3 separate regions of the Homo sapiens genome follow, and regions 1 and 3 are each linked to region 2. The links are contacts of gene promoters, found by promoter capture Hi-C in blood cells and fetal thymus (Javierre and others, 2016). All regions are on one chromosome and are shown on one strand. The core of a region is centred on a gene start or on the middle of the fragment in contact, and the rest is flanking DNA. Distances in the headings are between cores, read along the strand shown. Region 1 has its middle 25 kb from the start of EMC7. Region 2 holds the start of EMC4 (ER membrane protein complex subunit 4). Region 3 overlaps CHRM5 (cholinergic receptor muscarinic 5).

Region 1 (4,504 bases), core at 1,691-4,190, 150 kb before region 2:
AAGTCTGAAATCAAGGTGTCAGCAGGGCCATGATCCCTCTGAAGGAACTGAGAAAGGATCTGTTTCAGGCCTCTCTCCTAGCTTCTGGTAGTCTTGTGTTCCTCAGCTGTTAAATGTCCATCTTCTCCCTGTGTCTCCTCATATCATCTTCTCTCTTTGGTGTCGGTCTCTGTGTCTCAATTTCTCCCTTTGGGGGATATCAGTTATATTGGATTAGGGTCCACCGTAATGACTTCATCTTACCTTTATTACCTCCTAAAGACCCTATTTCCAAAGACAGTCACATTCTGAAGTACTGGGAGTTAGGACTCCAATGTATCTGTTTGTTGGGGGGACACAATTCAATCCATAATAATAACCAAGCAAGAAAAACACTTTCCTTTTTTATAGTTGAACGAACTGTAGACCAATGATGGGTAGTATTGAATGGAAAGGATTGACCAGGTGCGGTGGCTCACACCTGTAATCCCAGCACTTTGGGAGGCCGAGGAGGGCAGATCATGAGGTCAGGAGATCGAGACCATCCTGGCTAACACGGTGAAACCTTGTCTCTACTAAAAATACAAAAAGTAGCTGGGCGTGGTGGCACACGCCTGTAGTCCCAGTTACTCAGGAGGCTGAGGCAGGAGAATCAGTTGAACCCGGGAGGTGGAGGTTGCAGTGGACCAAGCCAAGATCACGCCACTGCACTCCAGCCTGGGCAAAAGAGCGAGACTCTGGCTCAAAAAAAAAAAAAAAAAAAAAAAGAACTACCTGAAACTGGGTAATTTATAAAGGAAAGAAGTTTAATTTACTCACAGTTCCGCATGGCTTGGGAGGCCTCAGGAAACTTACAATCGCAGCGGAAGGGGAAGTAAACATGTACTTCTTCACGTGACAGCAGGAGAGAGAAGTGCAGAGTGAAGAGGGGGAAAACCCCTTATAAAACTATCAGATTTCATGAGAACTCACTATCACAAGAACAGCATGGCGAGGAGTGCCCCCATGATCAAATCACCTCCCACGAGGTCCCTCCGTCAACACATAGGGATTACAATTTGGATTACTATTCAAAATGAGATTTGGGTGGGGACACAGAGCCAGACCATATCATTCACTATCTTTTTATATCCAAGAATCACCAGCTAGGCAATCTAATTACTCCTTTGTTTGGTTACTTATTTGTTCAGCAAATAGTTATTGATCTATTTGGAAAGCTTGGGGATGTGGAAGGGAATAAGACACTGTCTCTGCCCTCTAGGAACATAGACTAACAGAATGATGGATGGAACAACTACAGTAACTACAAAGAAAATTGTCCCAGTGGTGGCTGAAGGACATGCTCCTCCCCAAGAACAAGCGTTTTGCTTCTCCAGGCCTCTTATTCCCTGCTCTTTGGCACAGAAGGAAAATTAGCACTGAAGCCTAAACATATAGGCTTGAAGAGGAAGGATGACTGAGGAATGACAAGATGAATGCGGATAACATCCAACATTCCACTCACAGGATCTCACAAGCACAGGCCTCTGATCTTTTTTTTTTTTTTTCAGTTTGGTTCCCAGTTCCTGGACTACATGCCAAGGTACTGTGTTTTTCAGAAAGAAGACTTGCCCTGTCTAGATATACCCTAAATTTCTTATTCCATAATCCAACTTCTTCTCAAGGGAGGAGCAGAGATCAGGTAGAAATACAAAGAAATTAGAGTTTTCCATAGAATTCTCCAAATTTTCAAAATCAAATGCATACAATCACACACATTAGAGCACAACTTAAAGCAGTGAGTACAGAGTCTCAAGGTGGGAGCAGCTGGTTCACAGTAGGAGTGCTGAGGGCCTACCAGGAATGAGGAGACCTCTGAGAGGCTTTGAAAAAGACCGGAAACCTTCCTTCCAACCAATTCCCACCAGCTCCAAAGAGGATGAAGGGAGAGAAACCGTCTTTATGCCACTGGCCTCTGCTGGGCTACATCATTTAAAGATTTGAGGTTGGGCCAGAGGTAGGCAGAGAACAAGGCAGGAGGGAAGACAATGCTTATTTTTCCTCCAACTAACATATTCTCTCAAAGTTTCTGGGACTCTGAGATTTCTACTAAAGATTCTAGGCTTTCTTGGCAATGATTTTCATATACCACAGTTTGCTCAGAGACCTGTTATCAGTACATCATGGCCAGGTGATCACAGCCAGTCACAGCCAGCTTCAGGTCTCCATAAGAGGGAGTCCCTCCAGAATTGTGTGATTTGCCTGTGGCAATCACATCTATTTTAGGTGCATTAGGGGGAACTATGTGAAGGACGCTTCTAGTGAATCCTTTAGTAAAGTGAATAATTACTTCTAGGCTTCAACTAGAAGTGATTGGAAGTGATAGAAGTCATTGGAAGGAGCCTTATGACTTCACCACTTTACTTATTATTAATGGTCATTAGCCACAGTCACCACCATGTTACTCACAAGATTCAAACCCAAGCTGGCCTGGCTCCCAATCTGTGATCAGTTCTACCTCATTGTCTCAAGCACACTGAACACCATACACAGGGCTTTCCCTTATCATTTTTCCAGAGAGAATCAGGGTATTGTCCTCCAGAAGATAAGGCGAGTTCAGGCCTGCAATGCAACCAGGCGATGTCTGCCTACCTTTTTCGCCTCTCTTCTCTCCAGCTGTACTGTTCTTTCAGTTCCTTCAAGAGCCAAGCTCCAGGCCCACCCCTCCTTCAGCTCAGACTAGGAAGCACCTCATTCTTATCCCGCTCTTCTCAGTCTCAGCCTGGTTAATTCCTAGTCTTTCAGTCTTACCTATGAGTCACTTTTTAATGGAAGTGCTCTTACATTTGCCCTCTACCCACCCATTCGGGTTCCCCATTTATGAGCTTATAAATGACTTTTTCTTGGTAGCATCTACCAAAGTTTTCATTAGATACCTGTGTGTGTTTGGTTGATTCAATGTCTGTGTCTCCCTCTAAATGCTCATCTCTGAAGCCAGAGTTCATGCTTATTGTGCTCATGATCATATCCCCTCACCTAGTAGCCCTTGGCACATACGTGGCAACAGTACTTCACAATGTATTCTGTACTAAGTAAGTATGTGCTTACCTGCGATAGGAGATGGTTACAAGGCAAGGTTCCTGGTTTTTGTTTTTTCCTGTATTCTTAGTATCTTTATGATTCCCTGAAAAGTACAAACTTAATTCACCATGGGTCTCTGATCTCTATCCTTGTCTAACGATTTGAGTTAGGATCCCAACAATATGATAGAGCTGTATGTATGGCAGCCATCCCAGAACTATTTTAGAGGAGAGATTAATATTCTTCCTACCCTTCCTTGAGGACAGGACTGTTGTACTACTAGTGCTTTACAGTCCAAGGAGCTTAGGGTCCAGGTAGGGAAGTCAGAGAAGTAGACAAGTAATCTCAGAAAATGAAGTGCTATATATATAATAGGATAAGCCAGGCATGAAGGGGGACAAGGAGGCTCTTATCTGATCCTCATGAGCATCTGGAAGATTTCTGTAGAAAGTCCTAAAAAAGATGTTACAGGTTGATAAGGGAAAAAAATAGGCATGGGGTGGAGAGCTGAGATGAAGAGATACTCAAAAAGGCTCAGAGGTGAGAGAGCATGGAGTTTTCAGAGGGGAATTGTGAATAATTTGAGATACATAGGGAAGTGGCAAGAAGTGAGTCTGAAGGAACTGTGTTCAGGGGCCAAAGATGTTTGTCTTGAAGTCCATGAGAGTCAACACAGGGTTTAATTGATGAGTGATCCCATCAGATTTGCCTTTTAGAAACATCTTTAAGATTAGTGTCTAAAGCTCCAGTTACCAGAAACTAGGACTACAACTACTTTCTCTTGGAAGTCAATTTCTCTTGACTACACCACTGCTTTCTCTCTAAGGAGAGTTTGGAAGGAGAGAGGCAAGTCCCTAGATCATGCCAATAGAGGTAGGAGGAGGGTGGACAGGTTGGAAGAGATGTATACCATGTGTTGACTATGGGTATATTAATGTTTTTCAGTTTAGCATGTGAGAGCAGTACTACAGAAAGCAGTTAACAGTTTTCTCTAGATTAAGACCACTTACCCACTGATGAGTTTGGGAAATTGTTTAACCTGTTTCCTCATCTGAAAAATAAGAATATTAATAATTATAAACTCATCGAGAACTTATATGCCTTATCTCACTTATGTGTGGAATCTAAAAAAGCCAAACTCATGGAAGCAGAGAATGAAATGGTGGGTTGAGGGGTAGGAGAAATGGGAAGATACTGGCCAAAGGGTACAAACTCAATTATAAGATGAACAAGTTTCAGGGATCTTAACTACATCATGAGTGATGGTGGATGTATTAATTAATTTGATTGTGGTAGTCATAATACAATGTATATCAAATAATCACATTTTATACTCTGAATATAGTCAATCTTTATAAATTATTTTTAAATATTTTTAAAAGGGAATGAAATAAATTTACATTCATATATATGAAAAATTTGATTTCAAAATTATCTAAGAGGTACAAATATGAATCAATAGATT
Region 2 (4,405 bases), core at 892-3,391:
GCCTTTTTCAACCTTACCTCCCACAGCATCTCCTTCCCCCTAACTCCAGCCATATCGAATAACTTGGAGTCAAAGAAATACAAATTAAAAAATAATACAGTACCATTTCAAACTATTAAAAAAATTATAGACTGTGAAATGTAAATGGTGCCATTTTTCCTAGTGGACATTTTAATTTTTTTTGTTGTTGTTTGCAGAGGCAAGGTCTCACTATGTTGCCTAGGCTGGTCTTGAACTTCTGAGCTAAAGCAATCCTCCTGCCTCAGCCTCCCAAAGTTCTGGGATGACAGGTGTGAGCCACCACGCCTGGCTCCTGTGGGCATTTAAAATGAAAATTCTTTAAAAATGTGCATACTCTTTGATCCAGCAACTCCAATTTCACTTCTAGGACTATAACTTTAGGAAATAAGAAAAGACATACAGATATGTTCACAGCAACACTGGTTATAAAAGGAAGGAAAACAGGAAACAATTTAAATGTCCAATAATAGGCTATATTATGAAAAAGGTATACCATACAAAACCCAATCACTTTAAAGAATGACATACATTATTTAATGACACGTCATTAAAAACACATCAATGGTGTTATTTGGTAATGATGTGATACATCATTAAAAACACCACATAACCTAGCACTTTGGGAGGCCGAGGCAGGCAGATCACCTGAGGTCGGGAGTTCGAAACCAGCCTGACCAACACGGTGAAATCCCATCTCTACTAAAAATACAAAATTAGCTGGACGTGGTGGCGTGCGCCTGTAATCCCTGGTACTCGGGAGGCTGAGGCAGGAGAATTGCTTGAACCCGGGAGACGGAGGTTGCAGTGAGCCGAGATAGTGCCATTGCACTCCAGCCTGGGCAACAAAAGCAAAACTCCGTCTCGAACAAAAACACAAACAAACCAAACACCAGATATGTGGTGGGCACTAATCTCACAAGCCTTGAAAGTAGGTAGATTATCCAACTTTTACATGAAGAGGCTGAAACAAATTCAACTTGCCCAAGGTCATACAATTATTAAGTGGTGAAACCAGGATTCAAAAGGAGGCCATCTGCTGGGTGCAGTGGCCCATGCCTTTGTAATCTCAACATTTTGGGAGGCCAAGGCAGGAGAATCACTTGAACCCAAGAGTTTGAGAGCAGCCTGAGCAACATAGCGAAACCCTGTCAAAACAAAACAAAACAAAACAAAACAAGACTGGGGCGTGGTGGCGCGCCCTGTGGTCCTAGCTCCTCGGAACGCTCAGGTTGGAAGGAACGCTCAGGTGGGAAGATCGCTTGAGCCGGGGAAGTCGAGGCTGCAGTGAGCCGTGATAGCGCCACTGCACTACAGCCTCGGCAACGGAGTGAAACCCTGTCTCAAAAAACAAACCCAAAACAAACAACAACAAACGCAGGCTAACTGAATACCGAGCCCATGTCCCCTTCCATGCCCACAATGCTGCCTTGCCTTTGTGCAGAATGTGGTTAGAACTGTTTACCTCGCAAGGTTACTGTGCAAGTGAAATGAAATAAACACATGACACAGTGGACATTCAATACTCAGAAACTACTAAGTAACTCGCTCAAGGTCAAGCTAGGATTTAAACCCAGGATTTGAATCTTTTGTTCCAGGGAGCGCGTAGGAGGTTAAGAAGCTTTTCTTGGCTTCCTTTTTTTTTTTTTTGAGACAGAGTTTCGCTCTTGCTGCCCAGGCTGGCGTGCAATCGCTCGGTCTCAGTTCACTGCAACCTCCGGCTCCCGGATCCAAGCGATTCTCCTGCCTCAGCCTCCTAAGTAGCTGGGATTACAGGCGCCCGCCACTAAGCCCGGCTAATATTTTGTATTTTTAGTAGAGACGGGGTTTCACCATGTTAGCCAGGCTGGTCTCGAACTCCTGACTTCAGGTGATCCGCCCACCAATTCTTAACGCTGAGTCAGTATGGGCTTTCCTTCAGCCCCATAAAGTGCACCTCAGAGGTCAGGGAACACATAACAAGGACATTCAAAAGGGGAGCGCGCGGAAGTGGCTTTAGGAAGCACTAAGTCTTGCCTGGTTTTTTTTCCTCCCTGCTTTTCTAAATCCAAACCCGGACTCCTCAACCCACAGCACCACCAATTTCCAGGGCGGAAATGACGTCGTATTCACGCGCCGGAAGTGCATTTGCAGAGTGAGACAAAGCGGAGAACGCTGGTGGGCCTGTTGTGGAGTACGCTTTGGACTGAGAAGCATCGAGGCTATAGGACGCAGCTGTTGCCATGACGGCCCAGGGGGGCCTGGTGGCTAACCGAGGCCGGCGCTTCAAGTGGGCCATTGAGCTAAGCGGGCCTGGAGGAGGCAGCAGGTGAGGCACCTGGGCAAGCTGTACATCACTGTTCATCCCAGAACTGCACCAGAGTAATGAGACCTGAGCCCTCAGGCATAACTCTGAAAAAGATGGGTGGCACACAGACATCACCTGGGGAGGTAGCGGCTTTTCTGCCGTGGAAGTTTCTCTGCTCAAACAATGCTTACATCAGTCCTCCTGATAAGTCAAAGGACTGAGGAACATACGAGGGGGCTTGGTCTAATCTGAGTAGGTGCATCTGAAGATCTTTATTCCTATGATTGGTAGATCAGGAAATGTGGGATAAGAAGTATCGGAGGTTGCAGCTTTAGTTTCTTGGTTTGGTTTTTTAGGGGTCGAAGTGACCGGGGCAGTGGCCAGGGAGACTCGCTCTACCCAGTCGGTTACTTGGACAAGCAAGTGCCTGATACCAGCGTGCAAGAGACAGACCGGATCCTGGTGGAGAAGGTACAGAGGTATAGATGTTACCGTAGCCCATGGGCCAGTCCTGAGTTACACACTCATCCTCTTCTCCTAGGTGGAGTTAACGTAGATAGCTCTTATCCTGAAGATTTGGAAACTAAACTGCTTGAGGCTGGTATTTCGGTATTTTATATATCAGCTACAAAAGTGCTTAATAATTTGAAAAATAGAAGATGTTTGGAACATAAGGTATAAGAAAGTAGGTTGAAAACTATCTTTTGGTGGCAACATCTTCCAGTTGAAGTGATCCTTTTTCTACTCTGGTTCCCTTACACCACATATCCAACTGTCAGGATACTCTGTTGGCTTTACCTACTACTTTTTCCTGTGTTCACCTCTCATCCTAATCCAAGCCACCATCCTTCATCTAGATTTCTGCAGTAGCCCGGCTAATTTTTGTATTTTTAGTACAGACAGGGTATCACCATGTTTGCCAGGCTGGTCTTGAACTCCTGACCTCAGGTGATCCATCCGCCTTGGCCTTCCAAAGTGCTGGGATTGCAGGCATGAGCCACCGCGCTCGGCCCGGGGCTATTTATATTTCTAATTTCTCCTGTCATTTTGTTACATTTTTTCTAGAAACTTATCCATTTCCTAAAATTTCAAATGTATTGATATAAAGTTGTTCATAATATGATCACTTCCATATATGCAAGATCTGTGATGTTCATTTTTTCATTCCTGATATTGAATATTTTGTCTCCTCTCCTTTCTTCATCAGGCTCACCAGTATTGATTTTTTAAAAATTATTTTCATTTATTTTTACAGGTCACTGTACCCATCACCAGTATTGATTTTATTAATCTTTTCAAAAATACTTGGGTTTTTTTCTAGTTTCTTGAAATGGATGCTTAGTTTATTTTTAGACTGCCATTACTTTTTTTCTTTTCTTTTGAGACAGTCTTGCTGTTGTCGCCGAGGCTGGAATGCAATAGCACGACCTTGGCTCACTGCAACCTCTGCCTCCCAGGGTCAAGCAATTCTCCTGCCTCAGCCTCCCGAGTAGCTGGGATTATAGGCACCCACCACCACGTCCAGCTAATTTTTTTGTATTTTTAGTAGAGACGGGGTTTCACCACGTTGGCCAGGCTGGTCTGAAACTCCTGACCTCAGGTGATCCACCAAGCTCGGCCTCCCAAAGTGCTGGGATTACAGGTGTGAGGCACCGCGCCCGGCCACATTGCCATTACTTTTAATGGCAACAACCGCAGTTACTTTTGCAGCAACCTGGTAGTATGTATTTAAGGTTATAAATTTCTCAGAACTCTAGCTGTGTCCCACGAGTTTTAAAATGTGGTACTTTTGCTATCATATAAATCTATTTTCCATTATAATTTCTTCATGTATCATTGTTAATTCCCAAACATAAGAGATTTTCTAGTTACTATAAAATTATTTCTAGTTTAATATCATTGTAGTCAAAGAATATGTTTTGTACAATTTGCATTCTTTGAGATTGACATTTTCTTCATGGCTCAGCGAGTGGTCAGTTTTTGTGAATATCTTGTTTGAAAAGAATGTGAATTCTGCAATTGTTGAGTGCAGTGTTACATGTCAGTTGGGTTAAGTTTGTTAATGTCATTCAAATCTTCTATGTCTTGATTTGCCTGCTA
Region 3 (4,615 bases), core at 1,913-4,412, 180 kb before region 2:
TTTGGGAGGCCGAGGCGGGAGGATCATGAGGTCAGGAGATGGAGACCATCCTAGCTAATAGGGTGAAACCCCGTCTCTTAAAAATACAAAAAATTAGCTGGGCATGGTGGTGGGTGCCTGTAGTCCCAGCTACTCAGGAGGCTGAGGCAGGAGAATGGCATGAACCTGGGAGGCGGAGCTTGCAGTGAGCCGAGATCGTGCCACTGCACTCCAGCCTGGGCGACAGAGCGAGACTCTGTCTCAAAAATTAGTAATAATAATAAAAAATAAAGTAATTTAATGACCTCAGTAACAGACCTCTCTGTCACCTGAATTTGGTCTAAAAACTCAACTTTATTCTTACATTCTCTTTTTCTTAGAGCTATAAAGATGAACTCTTTCAGTTCAAGGACTATCGTATATCTCTTTTATATGCCCCACAGCAGCTGGCACACTAGTGAACACAAAGTATGTTCTAAAGAACATGTCACATTGAAATCCTGCTCTGGATATTATTGCTTCAGAGGTATTAAGAGGTCATTTCTTAATCACCACCTTATCTTCAGTCAGCAATTTGATTCTACCAGTCAAAAGGAGTTAGATATATCTTACTTTAAAATATTCACCAAAAAAATGCAAGTCCAGAACCTCCCTTATTCATTCACACGCTCTTTCACTGCAAGTCCTTCCTCATATCTAACACAGTGGTACCCCATGTGCTTTAAGCCTACTTTGTCTTGATTTGTCCTTGAAAAGGAAGGAGGGAGTCACTCATCAATATTCTACATAACAATATGAGCTGGTTATCATGATGTCCCAATATCACTGGGTTGTAGATGCCATTAAAGTTTTCCACTGTAGTTGCTATAGAAACAATGAAGAGTAACAAGGACAGGTTCAGGCATAAAGCTTCTCATAAAAAAAAAAAGGTGTTTCAGAAAACGAAGGCCTAACCTCACTTAGGAAAAGCCTCAAAAGTTGGCAAGTCCACTCGACAAGAAAAGGAATTCATTTGGTACACAGGGTTACCTTCTTTGATTTTTATGTTGCTTTGCTTCATTTGTAATGTATTGACAGCAGAGAACAAGAAACAATCGGCCAAGGTTGGAAACCCAGAGGCTTTTATTACTGTGGGAGTCTTTGTCTTATGTAGTGGTAGAAAATAAACCTGAGATGATTACTGCTCTCTCTTAATGCTGGTATCCTAAAAATAAACATACTCTAGATGGTGGGATGAAAAATGGGAACTGTTAAAGTTTGAGTAATCAGGGAAGAGCTCAAAAGGATCCACACTCCCAGATAACCACTTATATTTCATTTGCCTCTGCAACTTTCCTCAAAAATAAGTTACCCTTTCAAAAACATAATCAATGATTTAAGAAGTTTATTGTGGAAAACATTCAGGCTGGAAACTCAGTTTTCATACTCAACTATCATCCAAAAAAATAAATCAATCCATCAGCCGTGGAACCTACCTTATGTTCCAAATCTTTTTGTGGAAAGATCTGTCCAGCAGCCTAGGAATCAGGAAAAGTTATTCTCCCAAAAAGTGAGGCAGGAAAAAAAAAAAAAACGGGAAAAAGAGAAGGCAGAAAATCTCTAAAGGCTAATTATATTAATTTCGAACAGGAGAAAAAAATTTTTTTAACTCAAGTGATTTTGGAAGGCAGAGGGGGATTCAAATGTTACTGCACATTGCAGTTGGAAAATTCCAATTTAACAGCCCCTTTGTGAACGATCATTCCCCTTTTCTAGGAACCTAGGAAATCATTCTCAGCCTTGCAACTTAAAATATGGTACATGGATCAGTAGCATCAAGAATACTCAGGAGCTTTTCAGAAATGTGCAATTGTGAAATATGGCCAAGATGGCGGATTAGAAGCAGCGGCAGCCCGCAGCTCTCATGCAAAGGAATGAAAGGTGTGAGTGAATACAGCGCCTTCAACTGAAATATCCAGGTTCTCGCTTTGGGACTAATTGGGCAAACAACTTGACCCACAGAAAACAAAGAAAAGCAGGGTGGGGTGACGGCCCACCTGGGAGCAGCACAGAGCCAAAGGAACCCCCACCTCCAGCCAAGGGAAGCGGTGAGTGATTGTGCGACCCCACCGGGGAAACCACATTTCTCCCACAGGTCTTTGCAACCCATGGAAAAGGAGATCTCCTTGTGAGCCCATGCCAGCAGAGCCTTAGGTCCAACACACAGAGCTGTGCGGAGTTTCAGCAGAGCAGCCGCTCAGGCACAAACAGAGACCTAGCAGGGCTTTTTTGTTTTGGTTTTTTTGTTGGTTTTTTTTTTTTTCTTTTTTTGGAGACGGAGTCTCGTTCTGTCGCCCAGGCTGGAGTGCAGTGACACGATCTCGGCTCACTGCAAGCTCCGCCTCCCGGGTTCACGCCATTCTCCTGCCTCAGCCTCCCGAGTAGCTGGGACTACAGGCGCCCGCCACCATGCCCTGCTAACTTTTTGTATTTTTAGTAGAGACGGGGTTTCACCGTGTTAGCCAGAATGGTCTGGATCTCCTGACCTGATGATCCGCCCGTGTCAGCCTCCCAAAGTGCTGGGATTACAGGCGTGAGCCACCGTGCCCGGCGGAGACCTAGCAGTTTTACATACTCCAACGCTGGGATCCCTGGCAAGGCGGGAGGTCCATCTGCACATACCCCTAGGAAGAGGGCTGAAACCAGGGAGCCAAGCAGCATCTTTCTGCAGGCCCCACTTCCCTGGCACCTCACAAGATAAGACCCACTGACTTGGAATTCCAGCCAGCCAACAGTAAAAGCCAGAGTCTGCCTGAGAGAGAATTGAGCTCCCAGCGGGAGGATGACTGTTACCTCTGTGGTTCAGTTGACTCAGCCATTCTAGCTTGCGGCTTTGGAGAATCGAAACAGTCCAGACAAGGAAAGGTCCCTCCCAACGCAAGCACAGCTGCTTTGTCAGTTGGTGGCCAGACTGCTTGTTTTGTCTTTGTTTTGTTTTGTTTTTGGAGATAGTCTCACTTTGTCACCCAGGCTGGAGTGCAATGGCGCAATCTCGGCTTACTGCAACCTCTGCCTCCTGAGCTCAAGTAATCCTCCCACCTCAGCCTCCCGCACCCTGTTTCCCAGGATGAGGGGCTCTCCACACCAGATCCCAGAAATAAGAAATCAAAGGGTGCACGGGAGAAGGGATGGGGTCAAACAATAGGACCAAGTGAGTGGAGTAGCTGGGACTACAGGCACACATCACCACGTCCAGCTCGTGTGTGTGTGTGTTTGTGTGTGTGTGTGTTTGGTAGATATGGGAGTTTCACCCTGTTGCCCAGGCTGGTCTGAAACTCCTGAACTCAAGCAATCCACTTGCCTCGGCTTTCCAAAGTGCTGGGATTACAGGCGTAAGCCACCACACCCGGCCAGACTGCTTCTTTAAGCAGGACCCGGATCCATTCCTCCTCACTGGGTGGGATCTCCCTGTGGGAGCTTCAACCACTCCAGCCAGGGTTATATGGATAGAGCTCTGATCTTTCCCTGGGATGGAGCTCCCAGAGGGAGGGGCAGCCGCCATCTGTGTGGTTTGGTTGACTCAGCTGTTCCAGCCTGCTGGCTTTGGAGAGTCCAAATGGTCCTGACAAGGAAGGGTCCCCCACAACGAGCACAGCTGCTTTGCCAGATCATGGCCAGGCTGCTTCTTTAAGTGGGACCTGGATCCATTCCTCCTCACTGGGCAGGACCTCCATGTGGGGGTTTCAGCCACTCTAGCCAGGGTTATACAGACAGAGCTCTGATTTCTCCCTGGGATGGAGCTCCCAGGAGGAGGGGCAGCCGCCATCTCTACAGTTTGGTTGACTCAGCCATTCCAGCCTGCTGGCTTTGGAGAGTCCAAACAGTCTGGACAAGGAACAGTGCCCCCACAATGCAGCACACCTGCTCTACCAAAAAGCAGCCAGACTGCTTCTTTAAGTGGGTCCCTGATCCCATTCCTCCTGACTGACACCTCCCAAAAGGAGTCTGTGGCCTAGGTGTGTCTGGGCCAGCAACAGGTCAGTATCCTCCTGGGATGGAGCCTCCAAAGGAAGGAGCAGTCTGCCACCTTTGCTGTTTTGCATACCTGGTGGTATGTTTTGCAGCATACCACCAGGTATGAGAACAACCGAGGTGACTAGGGTCTGGAGTGGACCCACGGCAAACTGCAGCAGCCCTGTGGAAGAGTTGTCTGACTGTTAAAAGAAAAACAAACAAACAGAAAACAACAACATCAACAGAAAAGACCCCACAAAAACCTATTTCAAGGTCAGCAACCTCAAAGCTCAAAGGTAGATAAGCCCACAAAGATGAGACAGATTCAACACAAAAATGCTGAAAACTCAAAAAGACAGAGTGCGTCTCTGCCTCCAAATGACTGCACACCTCTCCAGCAAAGGCACAGAACTGGGCTGAAGCTGAGATGGCTGAATTGACAGAACTAGGCTTCTGAAAGTGGGTAATAACAAACTTCACTGAGCTAAAGGACCATGTTGTAACCCAATGCAAGGGAGCTATGAATCATGAGAAAACAATGCAGGAGCTGACAGCCAGAGTAGCCAGTTTAGAGAGGAACATAACAGACCTAATGGTGCTGAAAAACACACTATGAGAACTTTACAATGCAATCACAAGTATC

The links. The method cuts DNA at HindIII sites, captures the fragments that hold promoters and counts their contacts. A CHiCAGO score of 5 or more calls a contact.
Region 1: a fragment that was not itself captured here is called in contact with the fragment with the promoter of EMC4 in region 2 in 1 of 17 cell types (neutrophils); the score reaches 5.9 in neutrophils.
Region 3: a contact is called between a fragment that was not itself captured here and the fragment with the promoter of EMC4 in region 2, in 2 of 17 cell types (activated CD4 T cells and neutrophils). The highest score is 6.1, in activated CD4 T cells.

What each region holds. Positions count from the first base shown.
Region 1 is chr15:34,074,459-34,078,962 of GRCh38, forward strand. It overlaps a transcript of AVEN not described here. Among named protein-coding and RNA genes, the nearest start is that of EMC7, 25 kb to the right of the region's middle. The HindIII fragment of the contact is 3,492 bases long and covers 1,195-4,504 here.
Region 2 is chr15:34,222,875-34,227,279 of GRCh38, forward strand. EMC4 (ER membrane protein complex subunit 4) reads left to right here and starts at 2,142. Exons shown (of 5, transcript NM_016454.4): 1 at 2,142-2,326; 2 at 2,662-2,776. The coding sequence starts at 2,241. RefSeq lists an enhancer at 2,456-2,505. The HindIII fragment of the contact is 12,421 bases long and covers 1,638-4,405 here.
Region 3 is chr15:34,044,806-34,049,420 of GRCh38, forward strand. It overlaps CHRM5 (cholinergic receptor muscarinic 5), which reads left to right. Exons shown (of 3, transcript NM_012125.4): 2 at 1,735-2,066. It also overlaps a transcript of AVEN not described here. Among named protein-coding and RNA genes, the nearest start is that of AVEN, 7.9 kb to the left of the region's middle. The HindIII fragment of the contact is 4,552 bases long and covers 887-4,615 here.